Linked DNA regions of Homo sapiens: all the other regions are linked to region 2. Evidence: promoter capture Hi-C in human tissues and cell types (Jung and others, 2019). All regions are on one chromosome and are shown on one strand. Each heading gives the region's core, a stretch centred on a gene start or on the middle of the fragment in contact. The rest is flanking DNA. Distances are from core to core; before and after follow the strand shown.

Region 1 (4,537 bases), core at 934-3,433, 63 kb before region 2:
ATCTTTAGTAGAGATGGGGTTTCTCCATGTTGGTCAGGCTGGTCTCGATCTCCTGACCTTAGGTGATCTGCCTGCCTCAGCCTCCCAAACTGCTGGGATTACAGGCATGAGCCACTGTGCCTGGCTGCATTGTCCCTCTTAATCCCAGCAACACACCAGTAGAATAGTTACTGTTATTACCCACATTACAGACCCCAAGGCCCAGAGAGATTTCAGTAACTGATTGGGATCATGTTAAGTCTATAGGTCAAATAGATTCCAACTGAATCTTAAAATATTGAGTCTTCTAATCGAGGGTTGGCAAACTCATTCTATAAAAAGCTAGATAGTATTTTTGGTTTGCTGGTCATATGGTCTCTCTCACAACCACTCAGCTATGCCATTGTGGCATGAAAGCAACCATAGACAAGATGTAAATAAATTGGAATGCCTTTGTTTCGATAAAACATTATTTGTAAAAGTAGGCAGCAGGCTGGATTTGGCCTGTGGGCCATAGTTTGCCAACCTCTGTTCTAATCCATCAGCATAGCATATCTCTCCATTAGGGTTTCTTAATTTCTTTCGGCAATATTTTATACTTTTGGTGTAATGGTCTTGTACATTATTTTGGTTAAATTTATGTCTAGGAATTTTATGGGTTTTTTTTGGATACTATTAATAGAACTTAAACTTTTTTTTCTTTTTTTTTTTTTTTTTTTCTGAGACAGTCTTGCTGCGTCGCCTAGGCTGGAGTGCAGTGGCATGATCTCGGCTCACTGCAACCTCCGCCTCCTAAGTTCAAGTGATTCTCCTGCCTCAGCCTCCTGAGTAGCTGGGATTACAGGTGCCCACCACCACACCCGGCTAAATTTTTTTTTTTTTGAGACCGAGTCTTGCTCTGTCACCCAGCCTGGAGTGCAGTGGCACAATCTCGGCTCACTGCAAGCTCCGCCTCCCAGGTTCACGCCATTCTCCTGCCTCAGCCTCCCAAGTAGCTGGAACTACAGGCACCCGCCACCATGCCCGGCTAATTTTTTTTGTATTTTTAGTAGAGACAGGGTTTCACTGTATTAGCCAGGATGGTCTCGATCTCTTGACCTCGTGATCTGCCCGCCTCAGCGTCCCAAAGTTCTGGGATTACAGGCGTGAGCCACCACACCCAGCCACACCCGGCTAATTTTTGTATCTTTAGTAGAGGCAGGGTTTCCCCATGTTGTCCAGGCTGATCTCAAACTCCTGACCTCAGGTGATCCACCTGTCTCAGCCTCCCAAAGTGCTGGGATTACAGGCATGAGCCACTGTGCCTGGCCTTAAACTTATTTTCGAATTGTTTTCTGTTAGTATATAAAAATTGATTTTTGATTATTAAACTTGTGCCCTAGACACAGAGTAATTGGTAGAACCAGGATGAAAAATGAGCTCTCCCAGACCCCAAAGTCTTAATTCACAGAATTTTCACATCTATTCTGTTATACAAGTATATTATGTCTCTTTTAATAAACTTACAAAAGAAGTCATTTTACTTCTCACATGTTCAAAGTGTTTCAAAGACATTGATCTTCTTTGTCCCTCTCTCACAATCCTGGAGGAAAAGTCAAAGCCCCCAGTCACCCCTACCCTGGCTTTGGATGGAAGTGGCCATAAGCCCCCCATTGCTGTAAGAAGGAGAAGGAGAGGAGACAGAGTCAGCTCCCTGCTCCATGCACTGCAAAGCCCACCGGGCTCTAGGGCTGGGAAACCCATGCTGTGAGTTGCTGAGCTCAAGCCCTTTTCCTAGTGGGTGTCCCTGCCATCTGCAGGCATCAGTCAGTGGACAGCAGGAAGGAATTCAAGAGAGGGGAGGGGCAAAGAAAAGAGAACGAAGCGCAGTTGTAGTGTAATGTGAGCTTTGCTAGGTCCTGGGGGAAAGAAAGCTTCACTGATCAGACAGGAGAAATATTGAGCCATAAAGAACTTGGAATGGGAGCTGGGTGCAGTGGCTCACACCTGTAATCCCAGTGCTTTGGGAGGCCAGGGAGGGAGGATGGCTTGAGGCCAGGAATTTGAGACCAGCCTGGGCAACATAGTGAGAGACTTCATCTCTACAAAAAATAGAAAAATTTAACTGGGCATGGCACTCCAGCCAGAGTGAGACCTTGTCTCCAAAAAAAAAAAAAAAAAAAAAAATGTAATTAAAGAAAAAAAAAACGAAGAACTTGGAATGGTTTTTACAATCACGGGGGCAAAGTACAATGTACAATGCTTCAGCATTACAGCTTTGGCCTTCATTCATTTGCTTCCCAGCTGGATGGTTATTTTATATGAGCTATAGTTCTGTAGACCTCCTCAAACCTCTCTTGTAAAGAAATTATTTGTGTGTGGATTGAAAGAAACATAGGGTTGATTTCATCTTTTTTTTTTTTTTTTTTTTAACATTATCCCATTCATTCATTCATTTTGAGCCAGAGTCTCACTCTGTCACTCAGGCTGGAATGCCGTGGTGCGATCTTGGCTCTCCGCAACTTCTGTCTTTTGGATTCAAGAGATTCTCCTGCCTCAGCCTCCCGAGTAGCTGGGATTGGCAGGTGGATCATTTGAGGTCAGGAGTTCAAGATCAGCCTGGCCAAAATGGTGAAACCCCATCTCTACTAAAAATACTTTTTATTTTTTAAATATGCAAACCCAACCACTCAATTATACATACACTCCAACTGCAACTTAGAACCCTAAAATAGTCCTTTGTTTATTATGCACCCTCAGAAGGGTTTTTCTGCTTTGTTGTACCTTTTTTTTGGACATGTACACACAGGAAACTTTCTGTCTCTTTTTTTATCTCATGGAACTGTGTTTTGATTTGTTTTGTTTTGTTTTCAGAACCCCCCATGCCTGTTTTTATACCAGTCACATAAATAAACAACACCCAGTCTCACTGGAAAATGATGGAAACTTTGTCAGCAGCACTTCACATGAAAAAAACTCTTGTTTAGAAAATAAATGGTGATTTTAAAGTAGAGACATGGGCTGGGCACAGTGGCTCATGCTTGTAATCCCAGCACTTTGGGAGGCCGAGGCGGGCAGATCACTTGAGGTCAGGAGTTTGAGACTGGCCTGGTGAAACCATGTCTCTACTAAAAATACAAAAAAATTAGCCGGGCATGGTGATGTGCACCTGTAATCCCAGCTACTCAAGAGGCTGAAGCAGGAGAATCACTTGAACCCAGGAGCCGGAGGTTGCAGTGAGCTGAGATTTTGCCACTACACTCCACCCTGGGTGACAGAGCGACACTCTGTCTCAATAAATAAATAAATAAATAAATAAATAAATAAATAAAGTAGAGGCAAGGTCTGTGAAGGAACCCTCTCAGTCAGAATCCTACACACGTGCAAAGGTTTGCCCACCTCAGCCCCTGTGGGACTGATCTGCACAGACCATATTGCTAGCCTTCTGTCACCAAGCTTTCACTCTGTCTCCCTTTCTCTCTCTTTGTTATTTTCCAACTACCAAGTTCAAATTCTTTTTTTTTTTTTTCATTTCACTAGCTTTCTGGGGAACAGGTGGTGTTTGGTTACATGAATAAGTTCTTCAGTGGTGATTTCTGAGATTTTGGCGCAGCCATCAGTGTTGATTTCTTTATTCCCACAGCCCCAAACCAGGGTTCTCAGCTCTTTCTGAGTATTCTAATCACTTGGGGAGCTTTTGAAAAACCAATGTCAGGACCCTACTCCAGGCCAGTTATATCAGAGTCTCTGTTAGTGGATCCCAGGAGATCTTTTAAGCTCCTCAGGTGATTCTAGTATGCAGAAAAAGTTGAGAAATGCTTTCCCCAAATGAGTCCTTCCACTTATTCCAGCAGAAATGTGTTTCACGTAGAAACAGGCAGCACCAGGTCTCAGCATCCAGGATACTCTGTCATATTAAGAAACAGACAGGCTGGGCGTGGTGGCTCATGTCTGTAATCCCAGCACTTTGGGAGGTGCAGGAGGGCAGATCACTTGAGGTCAGCAGTTCAAGACCAGCCTGACCAACATGGTAAAACCCCATCTCTACTAAAAATACAAAAAAAAAAAAAAATTAGCTGGGCATAGTGGCAGGCACCTGTAGTCCCAGCTACTCGGGAGGCTGAGGCAGGAGGATCGCTTGAGCCCAGGAGGCAGAGGTTGTAGTGTGCTGAGAGCACACCACTGCACTCCAGCCTGGGCAATGGGAGAGAGATGCTGTCTCAAAAAGAAAAGAAAAGAAACAGACAGTGGGCACCAGCCACGAACATTCTTACTTAAGGGTTTGAAAACTGGGCTCACATTTCTGGGAAGGCTCTTGCCACAAATTATTTGAGGACCTTATTTTCTATGTCCCAGCTGGGAGAAGTCTCTCAATGACCAGAGGGACCTAGAGTTCTCCGGAAGTGGGAACTGCCCTGGGGTGACTACCTTGAAGCTGGTGGTGATGGATGCATATTTGTTATCAGCTGTCTCTGAATTCCCGATCAGGTAGTCCCAGCTGGTGAACATCTTGAAGCTGAATGTGAAGTTGTCACTCTCCCCTTCGCCTGTGCTTCCTTGGGTATTGCTGGCCATCCTG
Region 2 (4,535 bases), core at 1,099-3,598:
TCCTGGTAGAGTATAAAGGGAAGGATGAGAATATCAGGTCCCGTCGCAGGTGACTCCAGAGGAGATTTAAAATGGAAACCTTCATGGGGCTGGGTTTCAGTTAATTCAATATATTCCCAATGTTTAACTTTACTGCACCCCTTCACCACTTAGATCTGTGAAGTGAAAATTCTGACCAATTTCCTGTGTTCTATGGGAAAGGGAAAACGGCAGCGGCAACGTGGAATATTTCAGTAGGAAAGGGTTTGTGTTGTAGGCAAAATGGTCTTCCATTTCAGTCCTACTAAGGACTACTGCTCACAGGGGAGTCCCGCACAGCACAGCCCTGCAGCAGAGGCAGAGGGAGGCCAGGCTGGGTGCGGAAGGGACGGCATCTGGATGACTACGAGGGGAGTGGGGTGTGGAGAACCAGCCTGAGCATCCTACAGGCAGTGGTCACTACGGGAGCACCGTGGCCCGACCCCCGGGAGGAAGGTTTCTCGTCTGGCCACCCTGGGGCATAGAACTTTCTCACATTTGCTCCTTCATCTTTGGATTGAGATAAAGAGTGGATGAGGCAGGCAGGTGGGGTAGGAAGAAGGGACAGTGGCTGAGGCAAGTTCCGGGATAGGGGCCAGGAAGGGCTGTTGAGATGCCATGGCTGCACCCCCTGCCAGCCTCTGCCCAGCTCTTCCTTGCCTCCTGCTCCTGGGTCTCTCCCCTTGTAACACAGCGGCCTCACTGAAGCTCAGGCTCCCGACAACCAGACAGCAGCGGGTCACAGGAGCGGAAAGGGCAGATGAAGTGGCTCCTGGGGCCAGCTCCCTACTGGCCAGAGTGGGGCCAGGACAGGGCCCTCCCACAGGAGGGAGTGGAAAGGGCCCTCCCTCCCAGAATGGGGGAGGAAGGAGATCTCTTCCAACCCCCCAGAACCCCATCACTCCCCAAGATTCTGGTTTCTTGCCTACTAGTGTGGGGCGCAGGACCCAGCCCTGCCTGGGACGTGAAGGGGGAGAAAACAGCATCGCATCCATAATATTTTGTGACATGAAGATGCCCAGCCTGTGAGTGTGGCTTCTGCCCCTCTCCCCTGAACCCTCAGTCTCAACCAAGGGTTTTCTCTCCCGCCTATGGCTTCCTTGGGCTCTCCCACTTCTCCTGGAGCAAGTTGGCTCCCTCACCGGCTCACGGGAGAGCTGTGGTCACATTCCCAGTGGGAAGGTGATGGAGCACCCATTATGCCTACTACTTTTTGGAGGTTAAGAGTGTTCCTCCTAGAGTCCGGGGGCCTGGATGTGAATCTGGCCACACCACCCGCCAGAAGCCTGCACCGAGCTTCCCTGCCCTCTGTCTGGTGAATGTTCACTGCTTCCCAAGGCTCAGCTCAGAGTGTCACTAACCCTGGGAGTCTCCCCTGACACCGAGGGCTGAGCAGCACCTTCTCTGAGTGGTACTCTGCCCCCTCCCATGTTAAACACCTTGCCTCCCAGGAAGGCTCCATGCAGGGTGTTGAATGAGAGGGAAGGAGATGAAGGAGAATGTTGGATGGGTGGCTGGACTGTTGGGCTAAGCAGAGGGCACCCAGGCACTGCAGGCTCCCCAGAGACCCCACCACCCCATCTCACCTGTGTGTGGAGAGCCGCTCTTCACCCGCCCTTTCACTCCGCCTCGTGCTGTAAGAGACAGGATTGCTGACAAATGGCTGGCCTCTGGTGAGTCCCCCTCCCTGCAGACCCCCGGTCACTGTGGGACCCCTCAGCTGATTTGTGGCTGCCTCAAACTGGGACCCAGCTCCAATGATTTTACTCAGCAAATTATAGAGTCCCCTGCCTGTCACATTTGTCTGATACTGTCAGTCATGAGGTCAGAACATCCCCCACCCCCTGCCCTGCACAGAGACAGAGACAGATAGAAATCTGCTGAGGGGCTTGCTCGGAACAGGCAACCCTAACCGAGACAATAGGTGGCTGAGACGCCCCAGCAGGCTCTGAGGAGCATGCATCGGCCGTGACAGTCTCCAGTGCTGGCCTGAACACAGGTGCTGTGCACAGGTTGTCTTGAATCCTTCCAGTAGCCCTGCAAGGAGGTGATGACTACCCCCATCTCATGCGTGAGGATCAGAGAGGTTGAATAACCAGCCGAGGTCGCTCAGCGCACAGGGGACAGGCCCTGGACTCAAACCCAGCTCCTCCCTATGCCTCTGAACACCATATGTGCTTCCCCCATCCCCTGCTGCTGCCCAGGAACCCTGTGGGCGGGCCCCGCAGGATCAGGACGTGGACTCACCTTCCTCTTTCAGGCCCTTTACCTGGTGGCTCATGGTCAGCAGCACTGCTGGGGTCCTGCACAGGCTCACGCAGCGTGCTCCTGTATGCACGCCTTCAGCCTGGGCTGCTTTCCTGCCCTCATGGTGGCTGGCCTCCCTTCCTAGACCTGACAGCAGGCGGGGCTTCTTGGTTTGAGATTGAATGTGGAGGTGGGTGAAGTTTGGGGGAGAGAGACGGGTGAAGGAAGGCGACGAGTTCCCGGCCCATCAATCCGGCCACACACTCCTCTTCTCAGGTTTCCCTGCAAAGAGGCAGCATGGCCTCATGTTTCAGGCATCAGTTATACATGAGGGGCCCTGGAGGGGCCAGGAGCTGCAGGCTTATCTCCTGGCAATGATGCCGCTGGCACTCTAGCCAGAGGAGGTGTGAGGAGCATCCCAGGCCCTCTCCCACTATCTTGAGTCCCTGATTGGGACAAAGCACCAGGGAAATTCTAGAATGTTTGTTTAAGTTATTACTTGGGCTTCTGTTTAAAATGCAGATTCTGGCATGTGGTGGTTCACACCTGTAATCTCAGCACTTAGGAAGGCAGAGGCAGGAGGATTGCTTGAGCCCAAGAGCTCAAGACCAGCCTGTGCAACGTAGTGAGACCCCATCTCCACAAAAAGAAAAATAATAATAATAAATTTTTAAAAATAAAATGCATACTCCCAGGAGTGGCACTGGGCGTTGGAATCAGTCAGTCTGTGCCAGGCCCTGGGAGCCTGCACTGTGGATCCTGCTGCAGGCGTCCTGAGCCCACACAGATGAATGTTCCCGCTCAGCCCCCGCCCCCTCCCTCAGCAGCTTTTCCTCCCTGGCTTCAGGGAGGCACAGATTTGGCTGCTTTGAAAACCATCACTAAAGTGTCAGAGGGACCCTCTGGAAGGCAGTCATAAGGTCTCAGAGTGTGGAGTTCTTAATCTGGAGTCCCTGGAACCCCCAGAGCTGTGGATGGAATTCTGTGGGTTTGTGAATAGTGATGGAGAAAATACTACACTTTCACTTTTCCTAGCCTTAACTGCGATTTAGCATTTCCCTCAATCATGAATGTAAGCAAAGATGTGATTTTTGTCTCAGCAAAAGTCACAGTTATTTTTTTTCCCAATTAAACCACTGGGGATGTCTCAAAATATCTTACATGTTATCACAACTTCAAAATTATGATAGTTAGAGACCTGCCATGAAATCTTGTTATTTAATTAGGAAGCATATATTGTCATTATATGAAAGATATTTAAAGTGATTTTGATGCCTATTTCAGGATCATTGGTCTCCTTTGTAATCCTAGTGTTTTATTTTATGGATTTAATGTCTATGTTCTGAAAAGCGGTCTGTGGCTGGGCGTGGTGGTTCACGCCTGTAATCCCAGAATTTTGGGAGGCCAAGGCAGACGGATCACCTAGGGTTGGGAGTTCCGGACCAGTCTGGCCAACATGGTGAAACCCCATCTCTACTAAAAATGCAAAAATTAGCCGGGCGTGGTGGGATGTGTCTGTAGTCCCAGCTACTCAGGAGGCTGAGGCAGAATTGCTTGACCCAGGAGGTGGAGGTTGCAGTGAGCTGAGATTGCACCACTGCACTCCCTGGGTGATAGAGTGAGACTCTGTCTCAAAAATAAAAAAAAATATAAAAAGGGGTCTACGGACCTTACCAGGATGCCAAAGGATTCTATGACACAACAGAATAAAAAGCCTTCCCCAGGGCAAGTCTCCTGTGGGTGTCAAGGACAGACCTAGCCTCTGATCATGCCCATGTACTTTCTCAGGGGTCAGGAGTAGGAGTGCCTGTCCTCATGCAAGCTTGGCGAGGGAAGGGGCAAAGGAGCTACCTCTAAAATGCACGTGCAACGGTTCATCTCAAGCTTTGAAGCTTTTCTCTTTGTCCCACACCTTGATCTCCGACCCAACTGGTTCCTGCAGGGCCGCCCCAGTCCCCGGGGCATGAGGGCAGTGGGAGGATCTCAGTTGCATTCTCTGGCATCCATACTGCAGGACTGCAGCCGCAAATCCCTCTCCCCACCAGGGCCATGCCAGTGCAGGACCCCGGTCCATGTGAGAAGCAGCACGGGCAGCTGTGCAGCCACAGGACAGCGTGGCCCAGAGGACTGGTGAGTAAGGTTTCTGCTGGGGGTGCCCCAAGCGCTCTCCCCTGATGAGTGAGGACCCCCAGCAGCCCTTTACCCTGCTCTTTTTTTTTTTTTTTTTTTTTTTTGAGACAGCGTCTGGCTCTGTCGCCCAGGCTGGAGTG
Region 3 (4,310 bases), core at 1,250-3,749, 44 kb before region 2:
TATTCTATTTGTTAAAAGCAAGTCTCTAGGTCTAGCCTATATTCAAAGGGAGGCGTTACATAAGGACATGAATACCAGGAGAGAAGGATCATTGGAGGTTATCATAGAAATCTGCTTTCCACAGAAGCTTTTAAAACAGAGATAACAAGACCATACCCTCAGAGTCAAATTTATTTGACTGGGGGTGAGCCTAAGATCTGGTGTTCTTAAAGTCCCCCAGGTGATTTTCACATACATCCAGTGTTGGAAGAGAAGTACATAAACTTGTCATCCAGTGGGGCCTTGCCAGCCAGCTCCTGCAGCATAACTGAGGGTTCCTCAGGGATCACGTAGACATCCTGGGTTGTGCAGGCAATGGCAATTAAAGATAAACAAGGCTCATTCTTACATTCAGAGCTGTTTAATTTCATAAAGTGGTATTGAGAGTTTGTGGCAAAAGGAAAATGAATATAAGGAGAAGTTTCGTTAAAGTTGCGTTCAAGGCCAGGGATGGTGGCTCATGCCTGTAATCCCAACACTTTGGGAGGCTGAGGCGAGCAGATCGCTTAAGGTCAGGAGTTTGAGACCAGCCTGGCCAACATGGCGAAACCCCATCTCTACTAAAAATACAAAAACTAGCCGGGTCTGGTGGTGCGTGCCTGTAATCCCAGCTACTTGGGAGGCTGAGGCACGAGAATTGCTGGAACCCAGGAGGTGGAGGCTGCAGCGAGCCAAGACTGTGCCACTGCACTCCAACCCAGGAGATAGAATGAGGCTCTGTCTCTCTCTCTATATATATATAAATAATTTTTTTAAAAAGTCATGTTTGAGCACTTCTACTATTCTTATCCCTGGACCCTCTGGTTCACTATGCTTCATTTTAAAACATCCATGGGTCGTGGGGATATCTCTGAACCTTAGCTTATGCTGAAAACCCTTGAGCCCTGAAGTTCTCTGTGTCTTTGACCAACAGGACACTTCCTTTAGATGTGCAATGAATTTGGATGTGTCTGATTCCCATATGGCCAATTTCCCATCATCCTAAATAAGAAGGCATCTTGAGACACCCCACACCCTAATTGCTGTTATCCAACCTGTCATCAAGACTTGTCCGTGCACTTCACTCTGATTCCTCTCTTTTAATCCATTCCCATTGATATTACCCGGATCTAGCACTGACCTACTGCAACAGGCTGCTACCTGGTCTAAGCCTCTTCCCTTCTCCCCTATTTCCCTTCTTCCCTTCTCCTTCTTCCCAAGCCAAGGCTCCTCTTTCCAGCAAAGCATCTCTCTCTCTCTCTTACTCTCAACCCACTCCAGTATGGTTTTCCCAATCACCTGCCAATCAAATCAAGGTTCTCTAGCACGAATGGTTCAGATCTTGGCTGCTTCATTGGAATGCACCAATCACTAAGTTTTTATTGTTTAAAATAAATGTTCCCTCATAAAAATATTAAAAACTTACATAAATTATACCAAATTTAATGTTCTCTTTTAAAAAGCAACCGAGTGTCCTTAAAATTGCTCAACTTCCCCCAAACCTGCCTTTTATGGACCACTGCACAGCAAAATTTCAGAGATGTCTCATAGGCCTGTGGCATTTAAATGTGCTCTCTTCTCATGGAATAAAAGCTTCCAAGAAGAAAGCCAAGAGCTTTGTGAAGGTAAATTTCCCCATTGACTACCGAGGAAAACATTTCATATTTACCTGACTATGGAGGAGATAAATGAGACTTCCTATTAGCTTTTGACAATATTTTCCCCCTGGGGAGAACCAGACTTGGTGTAAGAGTGTTTGTGTACGCTTGACAGTGACGTTTAAAATGCTAACTTCTGGGTCAGAGAGTGATATTGGCATAAGAATATATGTAGGGCTCAGTGGACTCAGAACCCTTGATTTCTAGGTGTGTTTATGAAAGAGTACAAAGGCTAGTTAATGACATATTTGTAAGCACACATTTTGAGTAATATAGAAAAGAATTCAACAATTTTATGAATAATGTAACACTCCTTTGCTACCAAAGGCTATTATAATGCATGGTCAACCTCCTCCAATAAATCTGATTTAATTCACATTATGTGAAAGGTTTTTAATGTCCTGAAAGTGGCTGTGCAGAAAATGTAACTGCAGATAGAATTGACTCCAATATGCTCACAGAACCATTTATAACAAAATAGGAGTCAGTAAGTCATCAAAGAACCAATTAATACACCTGTGAGGAAGAAAATACTAAATGCACACATACTGTTCCTCTGAAAGCTGTTGAAGTAGACCCACTTGTGTACCCAGCACCAGCATCAAGGATTTCAGTCAGGACTGTAGCAATTGTAGCAATTGCTGTGCTCAGTGCTTAGTGAGCCACAGGCTCCTTGGAAAAGACCCTAAGCCATCACTCTGGGGACCTGAGATCCAATTCACAATGATCTTATTGTGTGACTTTGCACAAATTGCTCATTACCCCTTTTTTGTTTCTCAATTAATCATCTGTAGATAAGAATCTATTTATGTCCATAATAAGATTATATCTGGGGCCAGGTATGGTGGGTTATGCCTGTAATCCCAACACTTTGGGAGGCTGAGGTGGGAGAGCTACTTGAGCCCAGGAGTTCAAGGCTGCACTGAACCACGATCACATCACTGCCCTCCAACCTGGGCAACAGAGTGAGACCCTGTTTCTAAAAAAAACCTCCTTAAAAATTATATATGGGAGAATAGTGAGGAGTGATAGTCAAATCCAAGTTTTTTTGGTGATAAATAATGATATAATGTATTCTATCCCTCTCTTTTTTCTGAGAGTAAAAGAAAAAAACTCATTGAAACATTAATTCTCCACTGATCTTAAGGTAAAATGAGAAGTAGAAAAATGTAAGATTCACCTACTAATTAAGGAACAAAGTATTTTGGTTCCATTCTTTGTATTTAACTATCTGGGTAATTGATGTGAGTACATTAGGTCGTAGGTTGGTGCAAAAGTAATTGTAGTTTTTGCCATTACTTTTAATTTTATAAATTTACTTTTCATGGCAGTAATTTATAAATTACTTTTAATGGCAAAAAATTAAAATTACTTTTAATGCAAAACAATTACTTTTGCACCAGCCTAATAGCATTTTAAATGAATGACTGATTCTTTGTAAAACAGGAAGTATTTGGTTGATAATTGATGACGGTGGTCATAAGCCTTAACTCTATCCAAAGATTTAGGAAGTTCTTTTCTTACCTCTGGGATTATGACTAGACCAAATATTAAGCCAAAAAGGACAAGGTTAACTCCATACATCCATCGGAGAAAGATGAAATACGATGCCACTGAAGAACCAAAGTGACCTAGAGAGAGAAAAGACGGTGGGTATGAGTGCTGCAGAAGGAAAAAATGGACACTATTGAGCACTTTATGTGTGTGGTGGATTCAATTTTCACATCAGTCTGTTGAATGACACCTGGATCTCCCTTTCTTTTCCTGGATAAATAACCTGAGGCTCTTTGGGGTTAACTAACTTGCCTAAGTGCCCACAGTCAGAAAGTGAAAAAGCAGAATTTAAATCTTGGTCTGGGATGAGTGCGGTGGCTCACGTCTGTAATCCCAGCACTTTGGGAGGCTAAGGTGGGTGGATCACTTGAGGTCAGGAGTTCGAGACCAGCCTGGCCAACATGATGAAACCCTGTCTCTATTAAATATACAAAAAAATTAGCCAGGTGTGGTGGCCCAGACCTGTAATCCCAGCTACTCAGGAGGTTGAGACAGAAGAATCGCTTGAACCTAGGAGGTGAAGGTTGCAGTGAGCCAAGATCACACCACTGCACTCCAGCCTGGGCAACAGAGCGAGACTCTGTCTCAAAAATAAATAAAAATAAATAAATAAATAAATAAATAAATAAATAAATAAATAAAAAATAAATCTTGGCCTGACAAGTTCAAAACTCATTCTTTTTTCCTAATACAACAGAACCAATGAAATAATCTATTCAGAGGGCCAAGGAAACAATCCAAGCTCTTGGGAAACGCTTTAGGAAACCAATTAAAAAAACAGTGACACCAGCATACTCACTTTCAATGTCCTTGATCTTCATTTCCCAGGGGATACATTGAGTCTTGAAATTATCAAAGTCTCTCTTAAATTTGACCCATTTCTGAAATAAAAGACGTAAAACTCTCAGTTCCTTAACATGTCAACCTGGAGCACAAAGGGGCATGATGAGGGGCACGAGGAGGCCGACAGGTCAGCATGAGTCAGCATGGGTGAAGCTGCTGTCTTGCAGTCCCCAGCTCCTGCTGTCCTTGAGCCCAGGCTGCCAGAGGCAGGTGTTCAAACCTTTACTTCCCCAACGT

Evidence for each region. Contacts are between HindIII fragments. The study calls those that stand out against the background at their distance.
Region 1: a contact is called between a fragment that was not itself captured here and the fragment with the promoter of TMC2 in region 2, in 4 of the 25 tissues and cell types used here (H1 embryonic stem cells, pancreas, psoas muscle and 1 more).
Region 3: a contact is called between a fragment that was not itself captured here and the fragment with the promoter of TMC2 in region 2, in 1 of the 25 tissues and cell types used here (small bowel).

Annotation. Positions count from the first base shown.
Region 1 is chr20:2,597,148-2,601,684 of GRCh38, reverse strand. TMC2 (transmembrane channel like 2) reads right to left here. Exons shown (of 20, transcript NM_080751.3): 10 at 4,387-4,534. Among named protein-coding and RNA genes, the nearest start is that of NOP56, 53 kb to the left of the region's middle. The HindIII fragment of the contact is 6,794 bases long and covers 1-4,537 here.
Region 2 is chr20:2,534,386-2,538,920 of GRCh38, reverse strand. It overlaps TMC2 (transmembrane channel like 2), which reads right to left and starts at 2,348. Exons shown (of 20, transcript NM_080751.3): 1 at 2,266-2,348; 2 at 1,605-1,652. The coding sequence starts at 2,299. It overlaps LOC105372504 (a long non-coding RNA gene), which reads left to right. Exons shown (of 3, transcript XR_937204.3): 3 at 4,311-4,393. The HindIII fragment of the contact is 10,824 bases long and covers 1-4,535 here.
Region 3 is chr20:2,578,947-2,583,256 of GRCh38, reverse strand. It overlaps TMC2 (transmembrane channel like 2), which reads right to left. Exons shown (of 20, transcript NM_080751.3): 6 at 4,030-4,111; 7 at 3,201-3,307. Among named protein-coding and RNA genes, the nearest start is that of TMC2, 45 kb to the right of the region's middle. The HindIII fragment of the contact is 3,260 bases long and covers 870-4,129 here.